Regions from separate parts of the Homo sapiens genome. Here region 1 is linked to region 2. Evidence: promoter capture Hi-C in 16 types of primary human blood cells and fetal thymus (Javierre and others, 2016). All regions are on one chromosome and are shown on one strand. The core of a region is centred on a gene start or on the middle of the fragment in contact, and the rest is flanking DNA. Distances in the headings are between cores, read along the strand shown. Region 1 overlaps PDCD11 (programmed cell death 11). Region 2 holds the start of KCNIP2-AS1 (KCNIP2 antisense RNA 1).

Region 1 (3,058 bases), core at 16-2,515, 1.6 Mb after region 2:
TACTTTTCAGAGCCTCAGTTTCCCCTTGCTTGAAAGGAAATTAAGGGTGAAATTATCAGCAAACTAGACCCCCCAAACTTTCCTGTTTCTATGAATCATATACCCATCCCTGATTCCATATCCTTGGCCCCACCCGGTCATCACTTCTTTAGTCTAAAGCCCTTGTAGAGTCTTATTACCAAGTGTCTGTCAGAACTAACCTCTCCTGTCTTCTGTTTTCACTTATACCCAGTTCTGGTTCTCATGGTTTCTCTGCTGTACTGCATTTGAATCCTTTTTTTTTTTTTTTTTTTCTGTCACTGAGATAACAGGAAACAGTGCATTTGAATCCTTCTACCGAATTTACTTGCCTTCAATACTGTCTCTCTTCATGTCCAATCTATAGCCTGCAGTATATTTTTCTTGCTTACTGTTCTCTCGCTTTCCCTGCTTAAGTCTCTGACTTGCCAAAGCAAACTACCCATATCTAATTCAAGGTCTTCCACAAAAAAGCCCAACTTCTCCTTTAATTTTTTTGAGACAGAGTCTCACTTTGTCTCCCAGGTTGGAGTGCGGCGGCATGATCTCAGCTCACTGCAACCTCCGCCTCCCGGCCTCAAGCAATTCTCACGCTTCAGCCTGCCTAGTAGCTGGGACTAGGCGCAGGCCACCACGCCCGGCTAATTTTTGCGTTTTTGGTAGAGACGGGGTTTCGCCATGTTGACTATGCTGGTCTCGAACTCCTGACCTCAGATGATCCACGCGCCTCGGGCTCCCGAAGTGCTGGCATTACAGGTGTGAGCCATGGTGCCCGGCCTTCTTTAAAATTTAACTTCAATTTTTATGCTTTAATCTCCCAGTGGTCTAGTTGAATAATTCCTCAGAGACAACAGCAAGCCTTTGAGCAGTTGTTTGATAGGGAAATTGCTGGTGTTTATTGAAATAATAGGCTTTTCCCATCCATGTCTTTTCTCACATTCCCTTTCTACCTGTCAAGCTTCTGTTCATCTTTTACCCTTAAGCTAAAAAAGATCTTCTTTATGAAGCTTGCCTCCTTTACTTATCCCTTCCTACATTGCCTTATCCCTTCCTACATCTTTGTGATCATTTATAATCTGATTTGCATTTTAAGTTACTTGCATAATTGTTTTATCTTCCAAAAAGTGTGCATGTTCTTTGAAGGCAGAGGATTATATATTCATCTGTAGAGCTACAGTGTATCTCTGACTTAACTGTAGCTTCTTAGTGAGTATGTGCTACATTGAATCTATAACTTCTTTTTCTGGAAGAAGGTGGGTGGACTTGTGGTTTTGAAGCAGAGACCTTTGGAAAGATGAAGTATGGATTATTCCGGGCCTGACATCTAAACCATCTATGTTGTAGTCCTGAATGTTGTCTAGCATATTGCTGGAACGTTCTGTCTCTTGCCCGTTGATAACACCTTTCTGAAATCTGCTACCAAGACAACATGTCACCATTATCCTTTGCATTGTTTTTAGGAGACCCAAACATGGCAAACCTGGAAGAAAGCTTCCCCCGAGGAGGTACAAGAAAGATCCACAAACCAGAGAAAGCTTTCCAGCAGTCAGTTGAACAAGACAACTTATTTGATGTAAGTAGTATGCTTGTTTGGTGACACTCACTGGAAACTTTTACTGTAGTGTCTTGTGAAAAATGAGCCTTATTTGAGAATGTGTTATTTTTCCAGATTTTTTTTGCATTGAAGTCTACTTCTATAAATTTAACTCATTTAGAGAGGCCATACCACCACAAGGCTGTATCTTTTGAAGCTTGGCATTTAGTATTAAAGTACTGTTATTAGCTGGGCGTAGTGGCTCATGCCTGTAATCCCAGCAGTTTGGGAAGCCGAGGCAGGCGGATCACTTGAGGCTAGGAATTCAAGAGCAGCCTGGCCAACATGGTGAAACCCCGTCTATACTAATACCAAAACTAGCTGGGCATGGTAGTATACCTGTAGTCCTAGCTACTTGGGAGGCTGAGGCATGAGAATTGCTTGAACCAAGAAGGTGGAGGTTGCACTGACCCAATATTGTGCCACTGCTCTCCTGCCTGGGCGACAGAGTGAGACTCTGTCTCAAAAAACACACAAACAAAATAAATAAAGTGCTGTTCCTTGTTCTTAGACACTCTTTGCCATGTGCCATGTTGATTAAGGATGGAGAGGAAGCAGTTTTTTTTTTTTTTTTTTTTTTGAGACGAAGTCTTACTCTGTTGCCCATGCTGAAGTGCAGTGGCGTGAGTAGCTGGGATTACAGGTGCCTGCTACCATACCTGACTAATTTTTGTATTTTTGTTAGAGATGGGGTTTCACCATGTTGGCCAGGCTGGTCTGAAACTCCTGACCTCAGATGATCTGCTCACCTTGACCTCCCAAAGTGCTGGGATGGCAGGTGTGAGCCACTGCACCCAGCTGATGTTTTTGTTATTTTTGTTGTTGTTTTTTCAAGAGATGGGGAGAGATGATGTTTCACTCTGTTACTCAGGCTGGACTTAAACTCCTGGGCTCAGTCGATCCTCCCTCCTTAGCCTCCTGAGTAACTGGAACAACAGGCATGTTCCACTGTGTCTGACTGATCATTGCATTTTTACAGGGGTTCCTTGCCACATGTAATGGTCAGAATTTGCATTAGACTTCACAGTCTCACCTAGACTAGGCTGTGCTCCAAATGCTTGGGGAAAGGGAACTAACATTTGAGTGTGTGGCTTTAGGTCTGTATTATGTAATCTTTTCAACTGTACTGTGAAGCACTGATTGCAATTCCATGATGAGGAACAGTGTCTTGCTCTGTCGCCCAGGCTGAAGTGCAGTGTTGTGATCTCAGCTCACTGCAACCTCCACTTCTTGGTTCAAGCAATTCTCCTGTATCAGCCTCCCGAGTACCTGGGACTATAGGTGCGTGCTGCCATGCTCGGCTTAATTTTTTTGTATTTTTAGTGGAAAAAAAAATACAGCCTGTTGGCCAGGCTGGTCTTGAACTCCTAATCTCAAGTGATCTTCCCGCCTTGGCCTCCCAAAGTGTTGGGATTACTGGTGTGAGCCACTGTGCCTGGATTTTAT
Region 2 (3,041 bases), core at 83-2,582:
TTTAGAGTCTCCAAAATCCCCGCCACCACCCTCCTCCCGAGGACAGAACGTGTTAGTGCCAAAACGGGGAGGGAAGGAGGGCGCTCACCTTCCACCACACCGCAGAGGAACCGCCGAGCCCCTCCTGCAGCCCCGGCCACCGCCGCTCCCCCAGCCCCGGCGGGGTTGTCTTCTCCGGGTGCCGGAGCTGCCGGCGGCTCCAGCGATGCCCCCGCAGAGGCGGCAGGGTTGGAGCTGAGCTCGCTCTCCCGCTCCTCCAACGTCGCTTGACTCTCCTTCTGCACCATCCTCCTGCCCCCGGCCGCTGCCACCTCTGCGGGTCCTCCTCGACCTCTGTCCGTTGGGGCACCGGCCCGGAGCCCTGGAGAGGGCTTCAGCTCCAAGTGTGCGCCCCTCCGGCTCCTTCCCCTCCCCCTCTGCCCTTCCCCCTCCCTCTCCGCAGGGACCCGAATGCCCGGATGAGAAGGGCGGCGGCACCGGCGCGAGCCCTTTGTCAGCCGCAGCCTCGGCTTTAAGCTGGGGCGCCAGAAGCCTAAGCGGAGAGCGAGGCTGTGACCTCTCGTTCCCTGGAAGAAGACGGCCAAGGGTCCTGTCCTCGTTCTCTGCCTCTGCTGCCCTCCCGATAATCTTAGGTCTTCCGCTGTTTCCCCTCCAAGCCCCGAGCTCTCCCTCTGCTGCTGCCTCCACCGCCCGCTTCCTGTTTATCCGCACTGCGCTTGCGCTGCAGACCGGCTCAGACCGGTCCCCTCCGCCCGGCTCCCCCGCCTTCTTTGGGGCTAGCCTATTAAGCTTCTTTAGGTAGGGGGAAATAGAACAGGAGACGCGAAAAGCAGAAGGTAATGAAGGCAGTGGAATGTACCATTTCTGCTTGCCACCCTCCGAAACAAGCCTGGCACCCTGGGACGGACGGACCATTACCCGCCCCGAAGGAGGGGAGTATGGGAGGAGGCTGCCGCCGGTTGGGGCAATAGGGAGAAGGGGGGAAGGTGAAAAGGAGAGGTGTTTATTCTCTCAGTGCGCAGGCGCGGAGCCGCGGCCTCTCGTTCTTAAAGAGATAGGAAAGAACTGACCTACTTTCTATGGAGATTCTTGTAATAGGTGGGCTCATTACATCTGCCTAACCCAGGCTTGGTTCGGTAAAGACACCATTCCAAGGAGCTCAGCTCACCCCTCTGCCTTGAATCATTTTCCCCTAATCCCATTTAAAATGTAATCATTCGTTCATTCCTTCATTCAGTAGACATCTATAGAGCTTGCCTCGTGCTGGGCTCTAGAACACTATGAGCTCACAGTACGGTGGTGGAGACAAGCCACCACACACGCAGTTCCCACAAGGTGTCCCCAAGAACTTCGGAGCTCAGAACAGGTGATACTCACTCCTCCTTTGGGGAGAGGCCGTGGGCATGGCTTCACTTTTCAGCTGGATTATAAAGGATGTGAAGTTAGCCTGACTGAGCAGAAGGGGAGGGAAGACAGCACTCCAGGAAAGTGGAACGAACAACAGAGTCCAAAGGTAGGGAGGCATGAAAAGCCTGCCTTGTTTGGGAATGGGGAGCGCGCGGTGTGTGCAGTGGGGCATGAGATCCCTTCGGCCTCGGCATGGGCATCGCTTCCTTGGGAAGCCTTCCCTGAGCCCTAGATGGGTTTGGGTCTCCTTGCTGTATGTTCTCAGAGCTCTCTTGTAGACCTACCCTAATGCACTTTACATTTATGATGCTTGAGAAATCTATCTCAACCTGTGAGGTATAAACATGAAATGATGATTAAGACTTAGTAATGTCCATCTTACACTTCAGTCTGATATTTACCTTCTTTAGCCGTAGCCCAACTTGTAGTTTCAGGGACTTTCATGGTCCCTCTTCTTTTCAGTCCTGGATTGTTGAGATGGGGGTTAGGAGCAAACTTTTTTTTTTTTTTTGAGACAGAGTTTCACTCTGTCGCCCAGGCTGGAGCGCAGGAGCGCAGTGGCGCAATCTCGGCTCACTGCAGCCTTCACCTCCTGGGCTCAGGCTATTCTCCTGCCTCAACCTCTCGAGTAGCTGAGACTACAGGCACCCGCCACCACACCCGGCTAATTTTGTGTTTTTAATAGAGACGGGGTTTCGCCACGTTGACTAGGCTAGTCTTGAACTCCTGACCTCAGGTGATCCACCTGCCTCGGCCTCCCAAAGTGCTGGGATTACAGGTGTGAGCCACCGCGCCCGGCCGGACAAGCATTTTCTTAAGGGACCTCCTGTGCTGAGAGTTAGGGGCCATAGCAGCTTTACTGGATATTGTGGTCCGTTGGGGTTGAGAACACAATTTTTTTTTTTTTTTTTTTTTTGTAAGAGAAGAGGTCTCATTTTGCCACGCAGGCTAGTGCAATCATAGCTTAAGTATCGAATTCCTGGGCTCTCAAGGGATCTTCCCGCCTTAGCCATCCCGAGTAGCTGGGACTATAGGCGAGTGCCCGCCACCACACTCTTTTAATTTGTTCATTTTTGGTAGAGACGGGGGTCTCAACATCTTGCCCAAGCTGGTCTCAAACTCTTGGGCTCAGGTGATCCTCCAGTCTCAGCCTCCCAAAGTGCTGGGATTACAGACACGTGCCACCTCACCTGGCCGAAAAGAACTTTTATCTGAGGAATGAGAGTCCTTTTAAATTATCAGGCCCAGATGGCTGGGCGCAGTGTTGGTGTTTGCAACCAGCCTGGGCAATATTGCCAGACCCAGTCTTTATAAAAAAATAAAAATAGGCCGGGCGTGGTGGCTCACACCTGTAATCCCAGCACTTTGGGAGGCCGAGGCAGATGGATCACCTGAGGTCGGGAGTTCGAGACCAGCCTGACCAACATGGAGAAACCCCGTTTCTACTAAAAATACAAAATTAGCTGGGCATGGTGGCAGATGCCTGTAATCCCAGCTACTCGGGAGGCTGAGGCAGGAGAATCACTTGAACCCGGGTTGCGTGAGCCGAGATCGTGCCATTGCACTCCAACCTGGGCAACAAAAGCTAAACTCCATCTCAAAAAAAAAACAAAAAAAAAAAAAAAAAAAAAAAG

What was found. The method cuts DNA at HindIII sites, captures the fragments that hold promoters and counts their contacts. A CHiCAGO score of 5 or more calls a contact.
Region 1: a contact is called between a fragment that was not itself captured here and the fragment with the promoter of KCNIP2-AS1 in region 2, in 1 of 17 cell types (monocytes). The highest score is 5.1, in monocytes.

Annotation. Positions count from the first base shown.
Region 1 is chr10:103,396,938-103,399,995 of GRCh38, forward strand. PDCD11 (programmed cell death 11) reads left to right here. Exons shown (of 36, transcript NM_014976.2): 2 at 1,479-1,591. The coding sequence starts at 1,490. Among named protein-coding and RNA genes, the nearest start is that of PDCD11, 1.8 kb to the left of the region's middle. RefSeq lists enhancers at 173-674, 675-1,175. The HindIII fragment of the contact is 484 bases long and covers 1,024-1,507 here.
Region 2 is chr10:101,817,736-101,820,776 of GRCh38, forward strand. It overlaps KCNIP2-AS1 (KCNIP2 antisense RNA 1), which reads left to right and starts at 1,333. Exons shown (of 3, transcript NR_045118.1): 1 at 1,333-1,513. OGA (O-GlcNAcase) reads right to left here and starts at 709. Exons shown (of 16, transcript NM_012215.5): 1 at 89-709. The coding sequence starts at 287. RefSeq lists enhancers at 242-817, 619-738 and silencers at 269-328, 409-468. The HindIII fragment of the contact is 3,022 bases long and covers 788-3,041 here.